2 separate regions of the Homo sapiens genome follow, and region 2 is linked to region 1. The links are contacts of gene promoters, found by promoter capture Hi-C in human tissues and cell types (Jung and others, 2019). All regions are on one chromosome and are shown on one strand. The core of a region is centred on a gene start or on the middle of the fragment in contact, and the rest is flanking DNA. Distances in the headings are between cores, read along the strand shown.

What was found. The method cuts DNA at HindIII sites, captures the fragments that hold promoters and counts their contacts. A contact is called where the count stands out against the background at its distance.
Region 2: a contact is called between a fragment that was not itself captured here and the fragment with the promoter of DBT in region 1, in 1 of the 25 tissues and cell types used here (pancreas).

The regions. Positions count from the first base shown.
Region 1 is chr1:100,248,237-100,253,165 of GRCh38, reverse strand. DBT (dihydrolipoamide branched chain transacylase E2) reads left to right here and starts at 3,332. Exons shown (of 11, transcript NM_001918.5): 1 at 3,332-3,396. The coding sequence starts at 3,346. RefSeq lists a silencer at 3,113-3,212 and enhancers at 3,323-3,442, 3,044-3,603, 3,604-4,163. The HindIII fragment of the contact is 17,632 bases long and covers 1-4,929 here.
Region 2 is chr1:100,394,785-100,399,365 of GRCh38, reverse strand. The region is part of intron 4 of CDC14A (cell division cycle 14A); the gene reads right to left. Among named protein-coding and RNA genes, the nearest start is that of CDC14A, 45 kb to the right of the region's middle. The HindIII fragment of the contact is 8,031 bases long and covers 1-4,581 here.

The sequences.
Region 1 (4,929 bases), core at 2,083-4,582:
CTAACCAATAGCATTTGTATCACCTGGAGCTTGTTAGAAATGCAGAATGGCAGGTTTACCCACATTTACTGAATTAGAATCTGCTTGTTAACAAGATCCCCGGTTGCTATGAATGCTCATTAATGTCTGAGAAGCGCTGTGCTAAAGAAACCCTAGAACATGCACCAGGAGAAATGATCAAGAATGTTCATAACAGCACTGACGGTAATAGCAAATAACTAGAAATAGCACAAATATCCACTCAGTAGAGAATGGATAAATAAATCATGTCAGAAAAACTAGTTGCAGAAAGATACATACAGTTTAATACCATTTTTATGAGACTCAAAAACAAGCAAAAGTAAATAATATGTTACTAGGCATCCATCCATATATGTATATGTGGTCAATTCTAAAATAAACAAAGGAATGAAAAACACAATTCAAGATAACGCTTATGAAGGGGAGAGGTAAAGGAAGGAGCAGACAGTGATCTTCACTAACGGGAAAGATTCTATTTCTTTTTTTTTTAGTTTAAAATGTATTTTATTTTTAGACAACCTACATAATGTGTTTTTCCATAGGTTCTATTTCTTAAAGTTGAGTGATAGGTTCAAGGGTTTTTGTTATATTATCATGTGACATATGTATTTGTTTTGTATTGTTTTGAGATGGAATCTTGCTCTATTGCCCAGGCTGGAGTGCAATGGCACAATCTTGGCTCACCACAACCTTCGCCTCCCAGATTTAAGCAATTCTCCTGCCTCAGCCTCCCGAGTATCTGGGACTACAGGCGCATGCCACCATGCCTGGCTAATTTTTGTATTTTTAGTAGAGATGGGGTTTCACTATGTTGGCCAGGCTGGTCTCGAACTGCTGACCTCGTGATCTACCCGCCTTCGCCTCCCAATGTGCTGGGATTACAGGCATGAGCCACCACGTCCAGACTTATGTATTTGTTTTTATTCATATGTTCATTATTGTCTCATATAACACAGTTTTAACAGCTTTATTATGGTGTACTTTACATACCATAAAATTCACCTGTCTTAAGTGTATAATTCAAAGATTTTTAGTAAATGTACAGAATTATGCAATCATTGCCACAAAGTGGCAACAGAAAATTTTCATCACCACAAAAAAAATCTCTCTTGCCTCTGCAATCACTGCCCCTTCCACCTCTAGCCCCAGGCGAATTTGTTTTCTAATGCTAACCTTATTAATTAATAATACTAATATAATCTTATTATATAACTAATATAACTAAAACTAATCTGTTTTTCATCTCTATAAATCAACATTTTCTGGACATTTAATTTAAATGGAATAATGTAATATGTGATCTTTTGTGCTTGTATTCTTTTACTTAGCATAATATTTTTTTGACATTCATCCATGTCATAGCAATTATCGCTAATTCAGTCATTTTTAAGGATGAATAATATTTCAGAATATGGATGTACCACATTTTGTTTATTCACCTGTTAATGGACATCTGGGCTGTTTCTAGATTTTGGCTGTTATGCTGTTATGATTATTCCTATTCAAGTCTTTGTGTGAACACTGTTGTCATTTCTCTTATGTAGCTATCCAGGAGTGGAATTGGTGGGTCATAACTGGCCATTTTTAAATCTAAAAAAAGAGAAGAAATGGGGTCTTTGTTTCTTTCAAACTCGAATAAAAGAATTAACTAGGGAATAGATGGTGTATTTCTTTCCAGATGCTGGAATGAAAGATAAGGACACATATTATACTGAATATAGAAGCAAGAATCCATTGACATAAGAAGACGGTAAAGGAAAATAAACTAGTTATCTTCTGAGGAGCAGGTACAGTTAAAAACGAAATTAGGACAAAGAAAGTTGTATAGCAGCAGCTTGGAAGGGAGATGATTCACTTCAAAGGTACAACTGCCACTGCTTTTTATACAAACACATGCTTGTGGGATTATCAAATATATTAATAATGTCTATAAACATTTTTAAGGAAATGTAAAAACTTGAAATTCTTTTGACTACTCTAGATTTTCTGAGAAAGATAGCTATTTAGGCCGGACCCAGTGGCTCATGCCTGTAATCCTAGGACTTTGGGAGGCTGAAATGGGAAGATCGCAGTTTGAGACCAGGACTTTGAGACCAGCCTGGGCAACATAGAGAGATCCCATCTTGAACTTCTGAGCTCAAGCCATTTGCCTGCCTCAGCCTCCCAAAGTGCTGGAATTATGGGCAGGAGCCACCACGCCTGGCCCAAGAGACCCTATCTCTACCAAACAAACAAACAAACAAAAAAGATAATAAGATTTATTGTTTGCATTGATTTTTTGTGTGTAGATGTGTAATACATAAAATGGCAAATGAGGGGGAAAAGTGTTTGGGTCATATTAAACAATGAAGTTGTGAAATACCTGAGATTTTGTTTCATAACCACTAATCTTCAATGTTGAGCATTTAAAATGTATTTGTTCCAGTTTTTTTTCTCTGTAATTCCTTAGACATCTGTGCAGATTTTCATTCCCACGTAAGAAGCAATAACAGACTAATGTCATCCTGGACATTTCCAGGAATTGGTTTCCTAGTTGCTCTGAGGAAGATTGCCTTTTAAAAGAAAGCTCTGATCTGTTCTTTACCAGTTCCACTTGACCTGAATTTGACATTTCTTTAAGAGACAACTAAATCAAGATCATGTGTCTGTGACATGTATTGCATATGCTAGTTAGCTGCATCTGATAGCAGTCTGTAAAAAGAAAGATGATAACATGTTTATTTTAGACATTAGGTAATGTTCATCTTTCATGAAAAAAATTGATTAGCCAATTTTGGTAATCAAAAACATAAATGGGAGTAAAAAAGGCAGTCATTGGGAAGTACTGCTGTATGGACTTGTGAAACAACTAGTTGTCCAGAGCCTTGCTACAACGTATAGAAATATTCTATTTTCTGTATTTGGGGCGGCTACACTACAAGATGAAGACGGGGAAATGTTTTCCAACTCATCGCTCAGGTCCTACTGCAACATAACTTTCTTGAGGTAAGTACCTTTCTTTGTGTTTCCTTAACACTCTCTATTTTCCCCATCACATACACTAAAAAGATTATCTTTGGTGCATCTGTATTTACACAGCAGTGTTAAATTTGGGCTGCCCTCTGCCCCGCCTCCGTCCCCCAGGCTCTTTTCACTCCCCGCTGGGTCCCAGATCCTAGGGTTTAGCTCAGGCTCCGCCCTACTCCTTGGTTGGCTGTTGGGTGGGAGGCTCGTTTCTTCCCTCCCTATTGGTCGCCCAGGGGGAGGCGCGTTTCCCATCTCCTGATAGGCCGCGCCGAGGAGAGTCTCTCCAGTTTGCGGCACTGTTGTCATTTCCGGGGTAAGATGGCTGCAGTCCGTATGCTGAGAACCTGGAGCAGGAATGCGGGGAAGCTGGTAAGCACGTTTGGGCAGATCTGAGGCCGGGAAGGAGTGATTTGTCCGGAGTCATCCAGGAGTGGTGTTTTACTTTCTCCTCCGGTGCCAGGCGTCCAGGGCACGCGTGATGGAGAGGTGAAGGGATGCATGCAAAATAAAGGGCAGAGAACGGAGCGAGTCGACCAGTCTGGAGTGGAAACCCACTCCCTCCCCTTACCTGGAAGCGCTTCTGCAGCGACTCAGCCGTCCTGCTCCATCTGTACCCCGAGGCCCAGCTAGCGTTTTATTGAGCGCCTTCCAGGTGCCCAGGCATTGTGATAGGCGCTGTGGATCCAGAGATATATTCGTTTAGCATTTATTGCGTACCCACAGTATGCCAAACACTGGTAACACGACCCCTACCCTCAAGGAATCTACAGTGTGTAGAGGAAGAGGCCGTTCAAGTTATAGAATATCAGCAGGGGTCCCTGCTTCCGAAGAACTGAGCAGCTCGGCGTCACTCTTTTGCCTTGTACTTCTATGTCCGCACCACATATCATTCCTACCCTTTTGTCACCAAGGCTGTGACCCATCACCATCTCCCCTGCACTTCCTTCTCTTTCTCCCAGTCTTAGCACCAAGCACTGACACATACCGGTAATGATACTTGTTACCCCTATTTGCTTAGTGTTTCTTCTTCCTGCCTCTTCTCCCTTTCCCTAGATGCTCCTGCCTTGGTGACCCCGATCTTACAAAAACTTTCAAGAGCCTGCTATGTACCAGTGCTGTGTTAGGCACTGGAGATACAAATATGAAATAGACATCATATCTTCCTTCTCAAGAGATTACAACCTTGTGGTGGAGGACAAAGGAGAGGGAGACAGATAGAAATTACAACCCAGCATGAGAGGTACTGTGATGGGACAAGTGCCTAGAACTACAGGAACACACAGGAGTGGACACCTATGGTGGACTTGGGGGTCAGAGGAGTTCCCAGAGGATACTGTATGACTTGAGATGTAAGAAGGATAAGTAAGAGATAACCAGGAGAAGAGAGCTCTTCTCAGCAACACTTAACACATATTGGTCTCTCTTCTTTCTAGAGCTTTCCATTCTTGTTTTCTGTGACACCAGTTTCCCAATATTATTCTTTCTTCATCTTTGGCCACTTCATCCCAATATCCTGTTTCCCTTCCCGCCTTTTAAATATTGCTTTTTCTAAAGGGCTCTGACTTTGGCCCTCTGCACTTTTCCCACTTTCTGGGTTATCCCATCCACTCTTTGGCTTTAGTTACCATCTATGCTGATGAGTCCTAAAGTTCCCCAGTCTTCCAACCAGGTCTACTCCAAACCCATATATCCTACTGTCCTGGAAATCTCCAGTTTCATATGTACGTGATGTTTTCCAGCTGCAATTAAAAACCCAACCAATAAATAGGAAATTAAGTATCCATGCATACAGAGCATCCCCAATTAGATGTCAGCTCACATTAAGTGGCTTATGATTATCAATGTCGTCATTTCCCTAGTAGTTCATTTGTCCTTTTCCTACTGTATACAAGAGGGCTGCTA
Region 2 (4,581 bases), core at 2,082-4,581, 150 kb before region 1:
GACAAAAATCCACGAAAAGAAACACTTATAATATAGAAAGAGATGTGTTACATTATAAAAAATTTTGAAAGAAATCTAAAATGTTAAACAATGGTATTCTCTCTAAATGAAATATTATTTGGTCACCTGAATAGCAAAATGGCAAAACATACATAGGCTAAATTTTAAAAGGCTCAAAAAACTACACTGCAATCACACCTAATAAATAATTCAGGTTTAGAACTGCGAGAGAATTTTTCCACATTTCTTCTACAATGTGGTTACTCCACTTTTTAAAGTTTTTTTAATTGTAAGGGAAAAAAACACCCCTATCTTCTCATTAGATTATCCCCTTTTCAAAACGGACATTTAAAATAAAATTAAATTAAAAATTTAAAATAACTAGTTTTCTTCCAGCCTCCCTTCACTCCCCTACCACCAGAAAAAGCATCATCACCTTCATGCTATTCTCCCTGTCTGATGGTTCCTCAGCAACCTGGCCTGCTGGGATTGACCATCTTGGAACCTCCCCTCTCTCCAGGTCTGAACCCAGCCCTCCACACCCACACCAACAGGCAGGGAGTCATTCACCTTAGTATCCTCAACTCCAGGAACAAGGCCTGTTACATGAAAATACCTCAAAAAAACATTTGTTAGATAAATTCATATTTACCCAATTGTACCTATTGCCCGCTTTAAACAATTGTTTATTGCTCACCTGTCCCACATTTTAAGCTAGGCATTGTTTATATGTATATATATTTTATTCCCTAGAACCTACCATAGTGCTAGGAAGGGCTCATAGTAGCTAAACAAAGATTTACTGAACTAATGAATACCTGACTACAGATCTCACAAATTCATTTGGTTTAAACAAAATATTCCCTTAAAATAACATCCTTGGAGAGAAATATACTCCTACCTTCCAGTGAATTATACTAAGCAATAATCAGATTAACAACCATATGAGTGTTGTTACTGAGCCAAGGAAGTATTTAAGTGAAAAATATGATGGACAAGAGGAAGATGGGCAGACAGAAAGAGGGGAAGTAGCTGTCCGATCATCAGGGAGGTAGCCCAAAGGGTCTACGCACAAAAGTGAGTGATAGGAAGTAGGAGACTGGGTCAGAAAACTTTGTGGAAGGCCACACAGCTTCCCTGCCAGGGCCACCAGACATTCCTAAGTGCATACAACGTCAGACACTGCACCGATGACACCTTTATATAAATGACCTCCTTCAGTCCTCACCGCAAGTAAAATAGGGTATTATTATGCCTATTTTAAAGATGAAAAAAACAGGAGTTTGGATAAGTTAACTTGCTCAGGGCATACAACTAACAATTGGATTCAAAGCCCAGTGAGCCTGTGGCTATGTTAAAGTCATTGCTCACAACCACTAAGCCAAATGGAGAATGGCTTCTTTGCAATTAGTCACAGACTTAGCAGTAGAGTATAACTACTTAGGTCTTAAGTGTAGTCTACAAAATAAATAGCCAACACAGACATGGTTAGACAGTCTAAAAACCTCAGGCTTGTTATTCCCAATTCAGACATGACATCTGGTTCAGGCTAGTCTCAGTTAATCCACAATGTAGACCTCTAATTTAGCAATGCAAAGACTTAACAAGTGGGTAAGGAAAGTATATAATGTGGCTACCACCTCTGTTTAAGCATCCTCCACATAACAGAAAAAAAAACTGTATTTCTTTAACTCTGAACTTAATTTTCTAAGCTATACAGTCACACTTATTTTAACATCTTCTCATACATATTATTTTCCAATTCTTCAGTCACGGTGACCTGATCCAAATTCTCCTTGACCTAGGCCTGCAAAACTGAAAACAATATAGTAACACAGGTACTAGTGAAGACTTGGTCTTTAAGCACATGGCAAGAACCTAATTAATTCATACTCATAATTTTAAAAAGCCATCTTTTTCAAACTCATATCAGAGTGTTTTAGATGCTACAATGATCTAAACATCCTAACTTCAAAACTGCACTGAGTGTTGCCCTGGAAGGGAAACACCTTTCTGACAAAGCTGGTCTCTTCTTAAATCTGAGCCTTCCATCTCAAGGAGCACAATGTCACAATGCAGGGGGTGAAGAGATGCTCTACTAGTAGAGGCATCCCTAAAATGGGTGCCTAGCATCTGCTAAGTGTCACTGTGGTCTCCAGTGCCCACATCATTCCAGCAACCCTGGCTTTAAGATCACTGAACATGATGGTCTATATCAGGGTGTCTAATCATTTAGCTTCCCTGGGCCACATTGGAAGAAGAAGAATTGTCTTGGGCCACACATAAAATACACTAACACTAAGGATAGCTGATGAGCTTTAAAAAAAAAAAAAATCTCATAATGTTTTAAGAACGTTTATGAATTTGTGTTAGGCCACATTCAAAGCCAGCCGCAGGTTAAACAAGCTTGGTCTATATTTTATCTCCTTTTTGATCCTTATGACAGCTCTATGAGAGAAAGCATAAAAAGTCTCCCCCCACTTAGATATAAGGAAATAGAAACACAAAAGCTGTGAAATACTTGAAGTCATTATCTAACAGAGAAACCAAAAGTGCCACAAGATGGCACACTCAAAAGTAAGCCATGGTGTTTGTGGCACAACAGTTGAAAAGTAGTTAATGCCACTGAGCTGTACATTTTAAAATGGTTAAGACAGCAAGTTTCATGTTACGTATATTTTACCACAAAAAAATTGGGAAAATACAAGTTTATTTTTTAAAAAAAGGCTAGGTAGTGATGTAATTTTGTATACTTGTTACTACCCTTGGTCTATGCTCTTTACTTTGATTCTGTATCTTTAAAAACCAAAGTTGGCTCAGTCATGACTACAAATATTCTGGTAAAGGGGAAGACACCACTTTATACCTTACGTCCAACTTCATTATTTTCAGGAGTTTCCCATATATTACCTTCTTTCTTTCATGTTTTGTCATCCCATTATTCATTCACTCAAAAGATACTTACAGAGCACCCATTACATACCAGGCACAGCTCTAAATTGATAGTGTTCAAATACTGAAATAGTTCTATACCAGTTGGTAAATAGCTGCAGCCCACAGCACACCACTCCACTCCACACTGGCCATCCTAGTCTCTTCCTTGGGACCCACGCCCACCCCCTAGGCCCTAGACTTCCCCAAGATTCAGCAAAGCAAGAAGCCTCCAGGACCCTGTCCCAGCTTCCAACTCAACGGGTGAATACCCGGCCTAACCCCTTGTTAAATATTTTATCACCCTCCACACACAGCGACGAACAAAACAGATAAAGTCCTTACCCTCTAGTCTGGGAAAGAGATAATAAGCAAGTAAATGCATAAACAAAGTAATTTCAAATAGTAGCATGCTGTAAAGAAAATAAAGCAACAAAGGTCTAAAGGATGACTAGGGGTGGAGGTAACAGGGTAGAAATTAAGAGAAAATCTCTCTGAGAAAGTAACATTAGAAAGAGCCAGGCATGCAGAGGTCTGAAGTAAGAACATTCCAGATAGAACAGAAATATCAAGGCTCTTTGGTAGGAACAAGCATGGAATTTCAGTTAGAAGTCCAGCATGAGGGGAGCAACTTGAGCAAGGAGACCACAGAGGTAGAGAGGGTCAGATCAGAAAGGATCTTAATGGCATTGGTAAGGATAAATTTTATGCCAAGATCAGTGAGCAATAACAGATTTGAAACAGGGTAATGACGTGATCTAATTTACAATTTTAAAAGACTACTCTGACAGTTGTATGGCAACTAAATTAATGGGAAGCAAGAATATAAAAAGGAGACAACATATAAAGCTGTGGTCATAATCCAGGTGAACAATGACAGTGGCTTGGGCTAGGTGATAGCAACAGAGATGGAAAGATACATTCTGATTCAATATGTTTTAGAGGTAGAGCTGACCAAACTTACGAATAAGTAGAATGTGGGATGAGCGAACAAAAGAAATCAAAATGACTACTCTTTTGATTTAGCAAGTCACTGATGGTAGTCCACTTACTAAAAAGGGAATGACTTGGGAAATAAATACATTTAGGGAGAGAAGGAATAAAAACTTCTGTTTTGTCACAATAAATTTGAGGTATCATTTAGATGTATAATATGGAGCTATCAAACAGGCAGTTGGATATTTGATCTTTACAATAATCCTGTGAAGCAGATAAGGAAACTCAGGTATTATCCAAATTTTACAAATGAGAAAACTAAGGCTTTGAGAAAAAGGTTTGTCTTAGTACAAAATACTTTTATTAGTCAGTCAATGCCACTTAACAGAGGGCCGATTCCACATTTTAGGAACAGGAACACCTTCACTCTTAAAGACTTCTGTTTGATAAAATATACCTACCTACCTAGCTTGCCTCATGTAAGTTACATGGCTGCTCCGAAGGTAAAGGTCTTTTGTATCCAGAGAAGATTCCCCCAGAAAACGGACACTTATCCAACTAGCAACATTTAATATATGTAAATTTTAACTGAGATATATGTATAATGGATATTATTGACTATCTTACAAGACTGTCAACAAGTAAATACATACAAACAATACGAAGAAAGGCATAAAATTCTCTTTAAGGATCCACTGCCAATTTTTAGTTCCG